Regions from separate parts of the Homo sapiens genome. Here region 2 is linked to region 1. Evidence: promoter capture Hi-C in human tissues and cell types (Jung and others, 2019). All regions are on one chromosome and are shown on one strand. The core of a region is centred on a gene start or on the middle of the fragment in contact, and the rest is flanking DNA. Distances in the headings are between cores, read along the strand shown.

What was found. The method cuts DNA at HindIII sites, captures the fragments that hold promoters and counts their contacts. A contact is called where the count stands out against the background at its distance.
Region 2: a contact is called between a fragment that was not itself captured here and the fragment with the promoter of SLC34A2 in region 1, in 2 of the 25 tissues and cell types used here (aorta and pancreas).

What each region holds. Positions count from the first base shown.
Region 1 is chr4:25,652,946-25,658,072 of GRCh38, reverse strand. It overlaps SLC34A2 (solute carrier family 34 member 2), which reads right to left and starts at 2,222. Exons shown (of 13, transcript NM_006424.3): 1 at 2,183-2,222. RefSeq lists an enhancer at 1,859-2,772. The HindIII fragment of the contact is 21,396 bases long and covers 1-5,127 here.
Region 2 is chr4:25,692,399-25,697,525 of GRCh38, reverse strand. No RefSeq gene overlaps it. Among named protein-coding and RNA genes, the nearest start is that of SLC34A2, 39 kb to the right of the region's middle. The HindIII fragment of the contact is 9,413 bases long and covers 1-5,127 here.

The DNA of each region.
Region 1 (5,127 bases), core at 973-3,472:
CACCACAACACTGCAGAGATAATTTCAACCTCATGCAGGCCAGTGTTCTCGGGATGCCCAGGAAAACTTTCTTGTACTTTGAAAGAATGACTCTGTGCTTCAAAAATTCCCAAGAGGGTGACGTCTCCTTTTCCTCTGCTTCCCTTACAGCCATCACAAGGAAAAATAATCACCCCTATAGGCTAAGGGTGGTGGCTCACACCTATAATCCCAGCACTTTGGGAGGCCAAAGTGGGAGAGTCCCTTGAACCTGTGAGTTTGAGACCAGCTTAGACAACATAGTGAGACCCTGTCCCTACATTACTGCTAATAATAATCTCTTCAAGGACACAATGGTGGTAGTGATGAGAGGAGTCAAGGAAGCAATTGGCCTGGGCCTCACATTGATAGATAACTTGAGTTTACATTTTTGATGTGGCACACTAATAAACTTTAAACTTGGGCCATATCACCAAACCACACCCTCACCATGCACTATCAATTTGTATTTATGATATCTTAAAATAAATCCTGTAAATAACTTGTAACTATATCAGTTGTGCTGCATTGTATTGGGGGGGGAGGTTAAAGCAGTTAAATTTGTAAATATAAACATCTTAAAAATACCGCAATCTTTTTATAGCCCTCTTTTTGTACCTTTGCATTTTAAAAATTCACTGAGATGAATAAATTCCCTGGGATGTCCTGATTGCTCCCTGCGGTCCCCAGAATGGAAGTGGGGGTGTGGGTGAGGATGGAGGAGTGGAAGATGCCTGAAACTGGTTACTAAAGCCCAGTTTATTCCAAAGCACTCTGATTCTGTGAGGCTGTTTTCCTCATTGCATTGAATTCGGGCTATTTTTTTGTCCCCTTTGTGTCTAACAGCAACAATCAGAAGCCCATCCTCATACCACAGGGGACTTGCTTCATTGAGACAGTTGAGCAATTTGGGGAGTTTTGGATGGGGCAATTTGTTTAGCATCCAAACCTTTTACAAAGCACGCCTTTCTTATCACCCATTCCCCAAATTACAAAAGCAGAGAAGATCATGATCAGCGGGCATGGGACAAAAGAGGCAATCTTTTTTATTTTTGTTTTTCTTTAACAATCTGAAACAACGGCCACTCCTACAAGCACAGTTTTCCAAGAATACCCAACCCAGGACAAGTTAAAGAACTGCCAGCACACAAGGGAAGAAGGAAAAAGGAAAGAACGACAAGGCCCAGAGCGATCAGGGCTAACACAGAAACCCCCTGGGGCACCCAAACAGGAAGAGGGGACTCGAGTGATGAAATCCACAAGCTGCTTCCATGAAATCAACATGTTTGAAAAAGGGACCTCCTCAAAGAAAACGAGATTCCAACTCTCTTCAGCGCAGTGCGAGCCACCGGTGGCAGGCACCGTTGCAGGGAACCTGAACTAACTCCATGCCATGCAGCCCCCAACTTTCTGGCCTGAGGATGCGCAGTCCCCGAACCCAACCACTCCTGTGCACATCTCCTTGTAAGTTATCTCCCCAGCCTGCTCACCCATTTGTGGCTTGGAAAACATAAATTGCGGGCTTTGCTCCCCAAGACGGCTGAAGGACGGACCCTTCGCTGATGGCCACGGGCCCTAATAGAAACAAACTAAGACTGTCTCCTAGGCACCTTAAATAACTGCAAACAAGCACTGTACCACGTGGAAGTCACACTTGGGTGGGGGGCAGTGTCACATCACCAGGCAGCCACCACAAACCTAGAATTTTCATGGTCCTGAGATGTCGCATTCCCCTTCTTATAAAGAATGGAAGACGGCAGCCCAGGGGCTCACAGGGACTAGCGTTGTCACATGGCTAGTTGGTGACCCAGCCACAAAGAGCCTAGCTATCCTGATTCCTAGGTGGAGATTTCTATCCCCTGGGCCTTTCCTCTTCCAAACCACGACTCTCAAAACAGTGATCATTTTAGAATCCACAAGTGTGGCTGATTAATAACACTGTCGATCGTAAGAGTGTAGCAGCAAAAGCTGTAATAAAAGCAATAACCGTAACATTAAGAAGAAAACAACTTGAACATTGTGGAGAGCTTTGTGTTTTTCACTTCTGCGGCCCAAAGCCAGCCAAGTTCCTTGAAGTCAGCACCGAGAGGTATTTGCAAGAATTAAGTGAATCAAAGTCCTTGAAAGAGCGAGGAAGCGCCCCTGCCCCGGCGGCGGTACTCACCAGCGCTCCCTCCGCAGGTGCTGGGCTGGAGGCGGCGGCCAGGTGGAGCGCAGCGCCCCGGGTATATATGGCGAAGGTGTTGCGCAAAGAGGCTGGCCGCTGTCATCACGCCCCTCGCACATTCCAGGACCGCCTGCCGCAGCCGCCGCCGGGGCACTGCCTACCTGCCGCCTTAATGAACCCATCGCGACTTCGCCCGCTGCGCGGAGAAGACGCGCGGCCAGCCAGGCTGCCGAGAGAAAAGCTCCGACGGGCCCCGCCGCGCGAACTGGCCCGAACGGCCCCAAACGGCCCCGCGCCCCTCGGCGCCCCGCGCGCCCTAGCCTGGCTGGTGCGCGCCCTCTCCCGCCCCGACTCGGTCCGCACGAGATTCCCGCAAGTGGGGCTCTCCCGCCCCTGCCTTCTCCTCAAGAACTTGAACCTTCTAGTCTAGCTCCTGTGAGGCTCAAGAGGTCAGAGACGTGAAGACACAGATAAAAGCCAGTTGGAAAGTCAGGGATAAAGCCCTTGGAAACAAAGCCTGGATTGTTCACCTTTATCAGTCTGTGGGGCGCTTTCTGCCCTGGGAGTCTGGGCTCTAGGTCCGCAATGGGAAAGGCTGGGACCGTCAAGCTGAGGAAAAGGAAGGGGGCTGTTCTCACCACTCCGTCCTAAGCCTGCTGCGGGTTTGGCAAACCACTGCGCTCGTTTCACATCCTGCTCTGCCTCGTGTCACCTGCGTGTGTATACAACAGTTCTCCAAACTGCTGTGAGATAGGATCTGTCCCAGGGAGAGTCCACCCCCATGCTTATCCCAACAGCTCCCCAGTTCTGTGCCGGGCACTGCTGGGCAGGCTTTGTCTCCAATGTGCACACGAAAGCCTTCCCTGGGGCTAAGACTGGCGCCCTCTCTAGCTGAGGTTTAAGGGGTTAGGGGATATGATACAATTACCCAGGATTTGCTGAGCAGGAAGAAAACCTGCTTCTTATTCTGAAACCCAGACCCTCTCCTCTGCTGCGCACTCTCCTGGTTTTATAGTGGAGCACAGTGAGGCTCAGTGAGCTTACTAGTTGCCCAGCTCCTCACAACAGCGGAAGCACCCTACTGGAATTAGCTGGTTTCATTCCAACATCGAGTTCTCTCCACTGTGCAAGGGGAAGGACTCGGGAGCACGACTTCCAGGAGCCTAGAGCTCTGGGGCTGGTGTTGGCGGTGGCTAAGCACACTGACTCTGGGCCGAAACTCCGGGAAATCAGTTCCCTGTTCTGCCCCTTGCTTTCCCTGGCTCCATTTGCTTATGTGCAAACTGGGAATAATGGTCCCCGTTGGAGTAAAGTGAGCTAAAATATGTAAAGAATGTGGAATGGTACTTGGCACATAAATAGTATTCAGTGCGAGTTAACCATGATCGTTTTCACAGGGAAACTCTGGTGTTGGGAGAAGATGGGTGGGAAGCCTTGATTAGACTCATCTAGAACCTTCACTGGAGAAATCAAATCTGCTTGGGTTGCTGTTATTACAGGGATGATGGTTTTGCTAGTGGGTGTTGGCCTTCAGATCCAACTCTCAGACAATGATCAACCAGTACCTTTGCAACAAGCAGCTTCTAAAGCATAGTCCACTGATGACAGGAATCCCCTGGCACCTGTTCACCAAGCTCAGCTCTGCCTCCAGCCCTGGGCAAGGCGGACTGCAGACACCACTTGGCTTTACAATGAGGAAGGGCTCTACTGCCAGGGTGCAGAGGAGGAAGCGTGCTGCACACACTGCTGTCGGTGAACTCGACCCGGATTCGGCAAAGCCTGGCTCTTAGTTCATGTCCTGCTCTGCCCTGTGCTTGGGGGTTCACAGGAGCAGGTCTTAACAGGACAGTCACCTCAATGAGAATCCCCTCCTGACTGTGGGCTTTCATTTGGGACACAGACCTAATTGCCTTTCCATTACTTTCAACAAGGAGTGAATGTAGGAGGGAGACCAAAATTTCAAAAACTTGGAGAAAGAAAAAGGTATCCCTTTTGTGTTCCGATTAAAAAGGCAAAACAGGTTCAATCCCGAACATTGTTCTCTTAATGTGTATAGATCTTGGTAGTAGATCAGGGATGGTATCTGATTCTAGTTTGGGATTGTAATTTATATAATTTTTTTTTACAAAGTCTGGAGGAAAGGTAGATGGCGTGTCTGTGTTCATCACTCTATAATCTCTCCCTTTAGGAGAGTACAATTTGCTGAAGAACATTTTCCTATCGTTATTCCATCTGAGATACAAAATACTCTCACCATTTAGTACTTCAAACATAGAGCCTTATGTATAAATACAAACATCTAAAATACTTTCATCGAGGCTGGGTGTGGTGGCTCACATCTGTAATCCCAACAGTTTGGGAGGCCGAGGCAGGCAGATCACTTGAAGCCAGGAGTTGGAGACCCGTCTACCAACATGGCGAAACCCCGTCTCTGCTAAAAATATAAAAAAATCCCAGCTGCTCAGGAGGCTGAGTCACAAGAATCACTTGAACCCGGGAGGCGGAAGTTGCAGTGAGAGCTAACTGCAATCCAGCCTGGATGACAGAATAAGAATCTGTCTCAAAAAAATTAAATTAAAAAAAAATACTTTCATCAAAAAAGTGTCACCAAACCGGGCACAGTGGCTCAAGCCTGTAATCCCAGCATTTTGGGAGGCCGAGACGGGCGGAACACAAGGTCAGGAGATCGAGATGATCCTGGCTAACACAGTGAAACCCTGTCTCTACTAAAAATACAAAAAAAAATTAGCCGGGCATGGTGGCGGGTGCCTGTAGTCCCAGCTACTCAGGAGGCTGAGGCAGGAGAATGGCATGAACCTGGGAGGCAGAGCTTGCAGTGAGCCAAGATCGTGCCACTGCACTCCAGCCTGGGCGACAGAGTGAGACTCTGTCTCAAAAAAAAAAAGTATTACCATTTTTTCAACTCATTTCAGTATATTTTT
Region 2 (5,127 bases), core at 1,651-4,150, 39 kb before region 1:
GTTCATAGATCATTACAAAGCATTGAGATAAGAGACAATGAAGGTAGGAACTGCAGGGGTAGTGAGCAGTGAGGAAGGACTAGAACTGATCGGTAATGAAAGGGGCAGTTGAGGCCAGGTTCGGTGGCTCACATCTGTAATCCCAGCACTTTGGGAGGCCAATGCAGGAGGATCACTTGAGGTTGGAAGTTTGAGATCAGCCTGGCCAACATGGTGAAACCCCATCTCTAATAAAAACACAAAAATTAGCCAGGCGTGGTAGTGTATACCTCTAATCTCAGCTACTTGGGAGGCTGAGGCAGGAGAATCGCTTGAACCTGGGAGGCGGAGATTGCAGTGAGCCGAGATCGCGCCACTGCACTCCAGCCTGGGTGACAGAGTGAGACTCCACCTCAAAATAGAAAAAAATTTAAAAAAAGAGAGGTGTAGTTGATAGGCCTGTCAACCCTGGTCTTCCCCAGGAGGGTGGGCAGCGGAAGGAACTGAAGACAGATCTCAGGTTTCTGACTTTCATCAGCCTCCGATTTCTCAAAGAGCTCTGGCTTATCAGAAAGCCTCTATCTTTCTGATAAGAGGCTTATATCAGAAACATAGTGCTTATTTCTACTGAAATAAATGTATACCTCCATACGGACTGATTTATTTGGAAGACTCTATTAAAGAACAAGGAGCGAAAACACAAAGAAGTGAGAATCAGAAGCACAAGAGGTATTTTTACAAATGCATCAGGCTCGAAACCTTGGTACATGCATCCTTGTGTACCTCTTGTGCTGACCCACTCTAAATAATTTTCCTGAGATCTTCTTAGGCTATAACTGGAACACGTGACATTCAGGCCTCAAACACCTGCTGAATTTCACCATATCCATCAGGATCAAGTCCAAACTCCCCAGAGAGCATGCAAGCCTTTCTTTATCTGACCTCAGCTTATCTATAGCCCCAGGCTCATCCTTCACCCAAAGTGCTGGGATTACAGGCGTGAGCCACCGAGCCCAGTTGATCTTTGTTCTTTTCTTAGAAAGCACTTCCTTTTCACCCATTTCAGTCCTCAACCCCTTTCTACCTGCCAGGTGATCTGCAGGCTCCAGGGCTAAGCTCCGAAGCCACCTCCCAACCCCCGATGGAAGGCTTTCTTTCTTCCCTCCCCTCATCCTCCTTCTATGCATTGGGTCCTGTCATCTACTCCATTCTTACTTCTTAGAATCAATAAAATTGTGTATATTTAAGCCTTACCAACACCAAGCAATACAATGTGATCATGCTTTAATTATGGATCTCAGTACTTATAACCTTGGGGCACATGAGCTATTTCTAGGTGGGACCCTATTGAACTGTTAAAATGCTAACAGCTAAGCATTTGCTTTACTGTTTATTAGGAAAACAAGAGGACTTGAACACTAACTCCATGATTCACAAATATTATTACCCAAGATGAAGCAAAAGTAGGTGGCAATGTTAATCAATTGTAGAGGCTGCAGGGAGATAGAGCAAGCATTCTAAGGGAGAATGCTAATACCTGAGATTTAGGGAAATCTCATTTAATCCTCACAATAACCTTGTGAAATAGAGATCTTGTTCACATTGTTGAGATAGAAACCCAAGGGTCAGAAAGGTGAAATAACTTTCCTAAACATACAGAACCATTAAGTGGCGGGTATAAATAGGATCTGCAGTTGGGGTGGCTTCTTCTGCCCAGTCTCCTAGCAAAACTTACGCCCTGGGAACTGTCTACTTCTCTGTCTTCCTCACTAGAATGTGCTTAATTGTCAGTATATCTCATGCCTTGTGGGATTCCTAGTGCTTAGAGTACTTGCTGGCACACAGTCACACTTACTAGGATTCTGTAGAAAGAATGAATGACTGCAAGGGGGAGGGACCAGTGGCTTGTCTGTGCACAATTTACAAAGCAGTTTCACAAGCATTTTTTTTTTTTTTTTTGAGATAGAGTCTTGCTCTGTCGCCCAGGCTGGAGTGCATGGCACAATCTCAACTCACTGCAACCTCTGCCTCCCAGGTTCAAGCGATTCTCCTGCCTCAGCCTCCCTGAGTAGCTGAAACTACAGGAACGCGGCACCACGACCGGCTAATTTTTGTATTTTTAGTGGAGACAGGGTTTTGCCATGTTGCCAGGCTGGTCTTGAACTTCTGACCTCAGGTGATCTGCCCGCCTTGGCCTCCCAAAGTGCTGGGATTACAGGCGTGGGCCACTGTGCCCGGCCTTTATTTATTTATCTATTTTATTTTATTATTTTTTTTAAGGCAGGGTTTTGCTCTGTCACCCAGGCTGGAGTGCAGTGGTGTGATCACAGCTCACTGTAGCCTTAGACCTCATGGGCTCAAGTGATCCTCCCACCTGAGCCTCCCCAGTAGTTGGGACTGCAGCTATGAGCCACACACCTGATTGATTTTTTTTTAATTTTTTGTAGAGATGGTGTCTCCTATGTTACCCAGGCTAGTCTCGAACTCCTGAGCTCAAGCATTCCTCCCACCTCAGCCTCCCAAAGTGCTGAGATTACAGGTGTGAACACCGCTCCCAGCCACACAAGCATTTCTATTTAATTCTTCCAACACCCTTCTGTAGAAAATATGATTATTCTTCTTCTATATTTCACAGGAGAGAGCACTGATAATGAGTCTTGCCTTCATGCTAAGAGAAAAGCAGTGTAGGATCAAACTGACAGGAGGCCAGAAAGGCCCCAGAGATGTGTTGGAGGGTGGGGCAGGAGAGGGTAGGAAGGCGGGAGATAGAGAGGGAAGGACAGGGAATGATAAGAAAATGACCTGCTCTGCAGACCTGGGAAGCAAATGTTCTTTAACCTCTAGTACACTTTCCCTTTCCAGGCTCTGACCTCAGCAGCCCCAAACCACAGGAACTTCCTGTCCTGAGTACACACTATCACTTGGGATGTTTCTTTGGATTCCTAGAAGCATGCCCCTGATTACTGAGATAAGATACAAGGAGATGATGTGTTTCCCCTGAGCAGAGGAGACTTCTGAGCAAAATCCAGCTTCCGAGTTGACATGCTTCCTGGGAGTCATGCTTGTTACAATCCACGAGCCTACCTGACACATCATTATCACCCAAAGAGCATAGCTGACATCAGGTTCACTCTTGGTGTTGTACATTCTGTGGGTTTGGACAAGTTCATAATGAAGTGAACCCACCTTTTTTTTTTTTTTTTTTGAGACGGAGTTTTGCTCTGGTTGCCTAGGCTGGAGTGCAATGGTGCAATCTCAGCTCACTGCAACCTCTGCCTCCGTGGTTCAAACAATTCTCCTGCCTCAGCCTCCCGAGGAGCTGGGATTACACGTGCCCACCACCACACCTGGCTAATTTCGACTCACTGCAGCCTCCACCTCCTGGGCTCAGGAGATTCTCCTGCCTCAGCCTCCCAAGTAGCTGGGACTATAGGTGCACACCACCATGCCCGGCTAATTTTTGTGTTTTTTTTATAGAGATGGGATTTTGCCATGTTGCCCAGGCTGGTCTCTATCTCCTGGACTCAAGTGATCAGCCCGCCTCAGCCTCCCAAAGTGCTGGTATTACAGGCGTGAGCTACCATGCCCGGCCCATCTGTATGCTGTTACTGCCCAGCCTGGAGTGCAGTGGTGCTATCTCAGCTCACTGCAACCTCCACTTCCCGGATTCAAGCGATTCTCCGGCCTCAGCCTCCCAAGTAGCTGGGATTACAGGTGCACATCACCACGCCTGGCTAATTTTGTATTTTTAGTAGAGATGAGGTTTCACCATGTTGGTCAGGCTACTCTGGAACTCCTAACCTCAGGTGATCCACCCGCCTCAGCCTCCCAAAGTGCTGGGATTACAGGCGTGAGGCACCATGCCTGGCCTGTATGTGTAATTTTAGCTACTACTCCCTGCAGTGTATAGATTTAAAATGGCAAGATCTAAATCCAGAGGATCTGGGTTAAAATCTCAGTTTACCACTCACTCTTATGATGAGCTTGGTTAGACAAGTTATTGCAGCTTCTCTGTGCCTGGCTTCCTGAAATGGAAAATGTAAAACAGAGATAATAATACTCGGACCACATAAGGACACTGAACTAGGAGGTGAGCTAGGGCAAGACAAGTACTTAGTTCAGTGCCTGGCAAAGAGGAAATATTTGGTAAATGTGGGCTATTTTTGTATATCTAATATTTGGCATTTGAGATTTTTCACTTTTTTTTCTTTCCTATACAAGTAAAATGTTATCTATTTTGTCACTGTTTTTAATCCAACACTCTTTTCATTAATTCTAGTTATTTTTAAATTTTTTATAGAGAAAGGGTCTCACTATGTTGCCTAGACTGGTCTCGAACTCCTGTGTTCAAGCAACTCTTCCACCTCAGCCTCCCAAGTAGTTGAGATTACAGACATGAGCCACTACACCCAATTAATTTTTAATTTTTTGTAGAGATTGGAGTCTTGCTATGTTGTCCAGTTTGGTCTCAAACTCCTGGGGTCAAGCAATCCTCCTGCCTCAGCCTCCCACAGTGCTGGAGTTACAGGCATGAGACACCATGCCCAGCCCTGGAAGGGTTGGTCTTGTTGTCTCAGGGGTGTCAGAGGTGGAAGAAAATCTGCGTGTAAGTGAACCCTTGAAGTTCAAACTTGTGTTGTTCAAGGTCAACTGTATAATTAAAGTGATCTACGAGTATAGAAAAGCTTTATTTATTTTTATTTTTTATTTTTTTTTGAGATGGAGTTTCGCTCTTGTCGCCCAGGCTGGAGTGCAGTGGCGCAATCTCAGCTCACTGCAACCTCCACCTCCCAGGTTCAAACAATTCTCCTGCCTCAGCCTCCTGAGTAGCTGGGATTACAGGTGCCCACCACCACACCTGGCTAATTTTTTGTATTTTTAGTAGAGATCAGGTTTTGCCATGCTGGTCAGGCTGGTCTAGAACTCCTGACCTCGTGATCCACCTGCCTCGGCCTCCCAAAGTGCTGGGATTACAGGCTTGAGCCACCACGCCTGGCAAAACTTTATGTTATGTTTGAAGAAAATGAGAGTTAAATATATATCTATGAAATTAACTGTTAATTATATCTTTCAGAACTTCTGTACCATTGACAGCCAAGAGAAATCTACTTTGTGCTACATATGTTATTTAAAATTTTCTAGTAGCCA